2 separate regions of the Homo sapiens genome follow, and region 2 is linked to region 1. The links are contacts of gene promoters, found by promoter capture Hi-C in blood cells and fetal thymus (Javierre and others, 2016). All regions are on one chromosome and are shown on one strand. Each heading gives the region's core, a stretch centred on a gene start or on the middle of the fragment in contact. The rest is flanking DNA. Distances are from core to core; before and after follow the strand shown.

The links. Contacts are between HindIII fragments. The CHiCAGO score rates a contact against its expected background, and 5 or more counts as called.
Region 2: a fragment that was not itself captured here is called in contact with the fragment with the promoter of RPL3 in region 1 in 9 of 17 cell types (total B cells, naive CD8 T cells, naive B cells and 6 more); the score reaches 8.4 in total B cells.

Annotation. Positions count from the first base shown.
Region 1 is chr22:39,317,715-39,320,932 of GRCh38, reverse strand. It overlaps RPL3 (ribosomal protein L3), which reads left to right and starts at 1,310. Exons shown (of 10, transcript NM_000967.4): 1 at 1,310-1,338; 2 at 2,341-2,533. The coding sequence starts at 1,336. It overlaps SNORD43 (small nucleolar RNA, C/D box 43), which reads left to right and starts at 1,820; the gene lies at 1,820-1,881. RefSeq lists enhancers at 1-541, 706-1,125, 542-1,431, 1,516-1,565, 1,432-2,321 and 1 more. The HindIII fragment of the contact is 13,460 bases long and covers 1-1,737 here.
Region 2 is chr22:38,877,301-38,880,434 of GRCh38, reverse strand. No RefSeq gene overlaps it. Among named protein-coding and RNA genes, the nearest start is that of CBX6, 6.7 kb to the right of the region's middle. The HindIII fragment of the contact is 2,580 bases long and covers 414-2,993 here.

The sequences.
Region 1 (3,218 bases), core at 61-2,560:
TCAGGTGATCCGCCCGCCTCGGTCTCCCAAAGTGTTGGGATTACAGGCGTGAGCCACCGCGCCTGGCCGAGAGAATGCTTTTCAAACGACGGTGGGAGCAAAGGCCAGGCCCAGAATTAAAGAAGATGACAGGGTGGGACAGAGGAAGCAGGTGATATGAGAGCGTGTGCTCTGGCGCAGCCATGAGGCTGAAGTAGACGGTTAGGGGAGCGTCTTTGGTGGCCGCTGAAGTTGATGCTTAATTCCGAGGAAACAACGAGGCGGCCATGGAAAGTAACGAGATACTTGATTCTTAGAAAGATTTGTAGGGGGCCAGGCGCGGTGGCTCACACCTGTAATCCCAGCACTTTGGGAGGCCGAGGCGGGCGGATCACGAGATCAGGAGTTCAAGACCAGCCTGGCCAACATGGTGAAACACCGTCTCCACTAAAAATACAAAAAAAAAAAAAAAAAAAATTAGCCAGGCATGGTGGCGCATTCCTGTAATCCCAGCTACTCGGGAGGCTGAGGCAGGAGAACTGCTTGAACTGGGAACCGGTAGGCGGAGCTTGCAGTGAGCTGAGATCGCGCCACTGCGACAGAGCGAGACTCCGTCTCAAAAAAGAGATTTGTAAGGGACCAGCCTGGAAGCAGGGAATCGGTCAGGATCCGAGTCACCCTGGAGCCTAGGCAGAGATCAGCGAAAGCCCTCGCTGATGCATAGGTCTGGAAGGCGTGGGGCTCCGGGAGGCTGAGCAGCTGGACTCGGCATGACCAGAGGTCGTGAGGCCGTTCCGCAGGCTTGGGACGCTCCTGACCCTCAGAATCAAGCGCGGGCCACTGCATTAGCATGGGAGAAATGGCAGAGATAGGGCTTGAGGGAGGGATGCCCGAGATTAAAGGTATTAAAGGTAAATTGGTGTCGCCGCAAAACCAGCGTGGGAGCCAGGAAACGAGAGTTTCAGTCTTTCTTCGCTAATTCCAGAGATAGCTGCATATCACAGGAGGAGAAGCGACGCAGCCATTTTTCTTCGTTATTATCAAATTTGGCTGCTGCCGGACGCCGTAGATTTGTGGCTCACCCACCCTTAGCCCACCTCTCCGCGGCTTTTCACTAAGTTTGAACCCGACCCCTCGCCGTAGAGTGTGTAATTTCTGTCTCCGAAGCTGACGTCAACTTCTGAACGAAAGCTAGGAGCGGAAGAGCGTGCGTGGAAATGGCGCTCGGTACGTGCCCCCGACCTGTCGTCTGCCGCGGGGGCGCGCTCGCACGCCGGAAGGGGCGGGGCCAGATTTGGCTTTATATAGCGGACCCGTAAGGCCGACCGGCCTCTACCGGCGGGATTTGATGGCGTGATGGTATGTGTTGTAATGGCGGCCGTTTCATTGTCACCGGCGTCGGCACGGCTGAATCCGCGACGCATCGCCGCCATCCCGTCTTGGCCGGCGCCGGGGGTTTGCTTTAGGGGCACGGGCGACCCAGCGGGGACTTCAGTCTGGCCTATTTTCTGGAAAGTCGAGAGGCTTGTGAAGAGCGCTTGGAGGACTGGCTTTGGGCCTGCAGGTCGGCCAGAGAGAGGCCGTAAGGGTGGGAGCAGGCTTGGAGGCCCGGCGTTTTTAAAGCCATGAGTCATTTCTAAGTTTCGACCTCACCAATTCTATCATTAGTTGGGATTAGGGCCCATAACCTGCTTGTCTGGGTAGAAGGACCTTGGGTGGAGGTTCTCGGCGCCGTTCTCATTGGGAGGTAAAGAAGCTTGGGGGAGGGGAGTGTTGTGGAGTCCTCCTGAATATCTGGGGCCGCTGGTGCACTCCGAAGGCCTCTGGAGCTCGCAGAAACCACAGATGATGAACTTATTGACGGGCGGACAGAAACTGTGTGCTGATTGTCACGTTCTGATTTGGCTCTGCGGAGTTCTTTGGCCTGTGTGTATCAGTGTAATTAGTGTCCGGGCACCGGAGGCAGCCTATAGCTTAACATTGCTAGCTGCTACCCAGCGTTTGTCCCGGGAGTCCCTTTCTTTAGCGGTCAAAACCTTGCTAATTGGCATATAAAGCTGCCTGTTAAGCAGTTTTTAGTGCCACTACTTAGTGTATTTTTGTGTGGTTAGATAAAAAAAATGGGTCGTTTTCTTACAGGTTGAGAGGATTTGAAATAAGATTCAGCTTAAATTTTGTCGAATACAAAAGCATTCTTGACACGTGCGAGCCTGGAAGAGATAATGACCTTTTTATTCGGCTTGCTGGGTGTCTGGTCAGGATTCTTCAGTATTGCTGAGATTTGGAACTTAAGCAGCTGGGAACTAGAGAAGGGGGCACTGCTTTGGTTTGGGTGCTGACGGTGATTTTTTTCCCACCTAGTCTCACAGAAAGTTCTCCGCTCCCAGACATGGGTCCCTCGGCTTCCTGCCTCGGAAGCGCAGCAGCAGGCATCGTGGGAAGGTGAAGAGCTTCCCTAAGGATGACCCGTCCAAGCCGGTCCACCTCACAGCCTTCCTGGGATACAAGGCTGGCATGACTCACATCGTGCGGGAAGTCGACAGGCCGGGATCCAGTATGTACAGACATCCTAAAAGTTGGGGGAATAGGAGTGGAGGGGGAGGGAAATTGTAGAGATGGAGTCAAGCTGTTAGCAGAGGGCAGACTTTTTTTTTTAAGCAGGAGTTACACGTTGTCAGAACTGCTGCGACAGCAGAATGGGAATGCTTAACTTGAAAACTAATATTCCAAGGCTACAGATGGTCAGCACTGTTTGCTTTAGGTGCGGTGTGGGGTATTGATTTCAGAGCATAGTAAATTTGCCAGGAACCTTAGCAAAGAGAAGTTAACACTAGTGTGGGGGGTTGGAGCTGCTGAGGCTGGCATAAGAACTGCCTCATTCATGTTTTTTTCACCTGAAAGCTTGAATAATGGCCACTTACCTGTGTGTGTTCTACTTAGAGATGTCTAACAGCACTGGTTGCTGAGCCATGGAGACATTAATGTTAGGCAGTTGATACTGACTAATCTCTGAGCTCAGAGCTATTGTTAGGGCACTGAATTTTCCAGATAAATAGCAATCTTGTCTGCCTCCAGAGGTTTCTGTAGAAGAGAATTGAAGCTGGACAGGTATTTGGCTGTCTAGGGTCCTGATATTTTTTGTTTGAATAACATAAATGTGCTTTGAATGAGAGATAGGCAGTAAGGACAGCCCTGTGAGTCCGTACTGCAGGTGTGGGGCCCAGTTGCCCTTCCGGCCT
Region 2 (3,134 bases), core at 454-2,953, 440 kb after region 1:
AGAAATCCCATCTTTTCTACTTTGCATTCCCAGAGCCCATTGCAGAGAGGGGGAGAGAGATGCAGCAAGCAGTTGCTGGACCTGAATCCCTATACATGTTATATGGTCAAAATTACTCTTAACAAGCCCTTCAATGGCACACCCAACAAATATTAATTGGAAAATATATATATATGAATTGGATACCTACTGTGTGCAGGGCCCTGTGTTAGCACTGGAGAAAAAGTGGGAACCAGATGGGCAAAGTCCCTGCCACTGTGGAGCCTGGCGTCTAGTGAGGAAGTCAGGCATTAAATAAATGGTCATATTAAACAAACCATTCCTATAACGCCAGATAGTGTTAAGGACCAGGGGAAAAAATAGACATTGTAACCAAAAAGTGTCTGAGACAGGCCTCGATCAATTGAGAAGCTTATATTGCCAAGGTCAAGGACATGTCCGGAAGATAGTGAATTCGGGTCCTGAGTTTTTATTTTTCTTTCTCATCTATGGGGAGAGAGGGTGGTGGGTAGGAGTTGGGGCTCCTTTACATAAGGTCATCAGAGGAAATCTTTTTGAAGAGGTAACATCTGAGCAGAGATTGAAAGAACTGAAGAAGCCACCGTGCCACCCCTGGGAGAAGATGGGACTGTTCTAGGTAGAGGGAACAGCAAGGATCAAGGGCCTGGGGTGGGAGCAGCTTGGAGTTTGCAGAGCCTATAAAGTACCATACTCAGCTGCTGTGTCTCATCCCTCCGCAGTAACATCTGTTCCCTGCTCGGATCCCCAGGGGTCCCTGTTCTATGTCCCCCCAAGCCCACCCATGTGCCTTTCCTCCAGCAGCCAGCATCTATAGCTCTCCTTCCAAAGGCCATCCCCAGGGTACTGAAGCCACTTTGCAGACAGAGGCAGAAAGCAGCACGTGTCTGGGGGATCAACATTCCCCCCACCTAATACCCTTGCCCTGCAGCCTGTAACCAGGGTCTGGTGGGTGGGGGAAAATATTGAGGAATAACTTACTCTCCAGATCCCTTGAGGCGTGAGGCTGGGGCCACTCACTGCAGGACTTTAGCTCGACACCTTACTCTCTGCTTGCTTCCTTCCCTTTCCTATCTTGCTTCACTCATTCCCTTAGCAATCTCCCCTGGGAGCACTTCCTTAATAAGTCACTTACATGTGACTAAGACAATCACATAAGGGGTTGAGTTGCAGCAGTGTGCAGTGTATAGTGATAAAGACATCTGCAGAAAATCATTTTACATTTTCTAAATGATGGAGACAAGTGCAGAGTTGACTCTGTGTTGAGTTAAATGTCCAGATGATGCCACACCCTCCACATTCTAACTCACACCCCAGCCCTCCAGGACCTCAAATCAGGGACAGAATGAAGGCCTGTGGCCTGTGGTCCCAAGCTCAAGGCACTGACTTCTGGCATCAGGGAGGGGATAGTCCATTCTGGAAAGTGGACTTGGATAGATCTTCAATGGGATTGGAGCTAAAGTACTCTTTCCCAATTCTGACACTGTCCACAGCCTTAAGAGACTCTGTGCCTCAACCATGCCAGGCTGACAGTCGAAGCCTGGGACAAAGCTACCTCCTCCCATCCCTGAGTCCCTCCTTGCCCCAGGTGCAGACAAACTCTGTTTGGCAAAGGCCTCACTCCCCATCCCTGCAAAGCCCAGTTCAGCACCTTCATTCCTTGATTTGTCCCACAGATATTTATGAGGCACCCACATGTGTCTGATGCTAGGGACATGGAGGCATAGCCCATGAGTCCCAACCACACCCAACTGGTAGAAGTCACAAAGGTAAGATGCCCAGAATTCTGCAGGTGCCTTTGTGAAAGGAGTGTCTGGCCCCAGGGATCCCATCAGCTTTAAGCATGAGCTGTGTCCCAACTAGGGACCCTTGAGGTAAATTATTACAATAATAGCTCTGCGTTCCCTTTTCAGTGTGACCCTGCCACTCCTCCCATCCAGGCATGGAGTCTCTTTCCCTGTTCCTGAATCTGGACTGGCCTGATATATTAGTTTGCTATGCTCTATCACTGATTGCTTAAAGCAATACCCCTTTATCATTTCAGTTTCTGTGGGTCAGAAGTCCAGGCACAGCTTAACTGAAGTCTCTGCTCAGGGTCTCACAGGCTGCAATCCAGGTGTCAGCTGGCGCCACATCCCCATCTGAAAACTCAGAGTTCTCCTCCAAGCTCAGTGGCTAGTCACAGAATTCAGATCCTTGTGATTGTAGGACTGAGGTCCTCAGCTCCTGGAAACCACCCACCACCGTTCCTGCCACATGGCCCTCTCCACAACATGGCATCTTGCCTCTTCAAGGTCAACAGGAGCGCAATTCCACTGCTTCCAACCTTTCCTCTTGGGAGAGGCTTGGATTGTCTTTCAAAGAGCTCGCCTGATTAGGTCAGACCAAGATAAACTCCCTTTTGAATAAGTCAAAGTCAACTTAAAGGACCTTAATTATGTCTACAAAACCTTGTTTGTTTGTTTTTGAGACAGAGTGTTGCTCTGTTGCCCAGGCTGGAGTGCAGTGGCACAATCTTGGCTCACTGCAACCTCCGTCTCCCAGGTTCAAGTGATTCTCCTGCCTCAGCTTCCCCAGTAGCTGGGATTACAGGTGTCCACTACCACGCCCAGTTAATTTTTGTATTTTTAGTAGAGATGGGGTTTCATCATATCGGCCAGGCTGGTCTCAAACTCCCGACCTCAGGTGATCTACCCACCTCGGCCTCCCAAAGTGCTGGAATTACAGGCAGGAACCACCACACCCGGCCTGTTTTTTCAATATAACCTAATCATGGGAGCAAAATCCCAACACGTTCCTTAGGTCCCTCTCATGCTCAAAGGGAGGGGATTATACAGGACATGTACACTGGGTTGGGGGAGGCAGGAACCTTAGTGGCCTTGAAATCTGCTCACCATACCTTGTGACTTGCTTTGACCAACAGAATGCAGAGGGAGCAATGTTGTGTAAGTTCCAAGGCAAGACCTTAAGAAGCTTTGTGTGTCTCTCACCTTCTTGTGTGACTCCTGGAACCACATAAGCAAGCTTGAAGTAGACTATGAATGATGAGAGACCACGAGGAGAGAGAGGCCCAGCCAGCATCCAGTACTATGACTCCAGATGTACACATCAAGCCT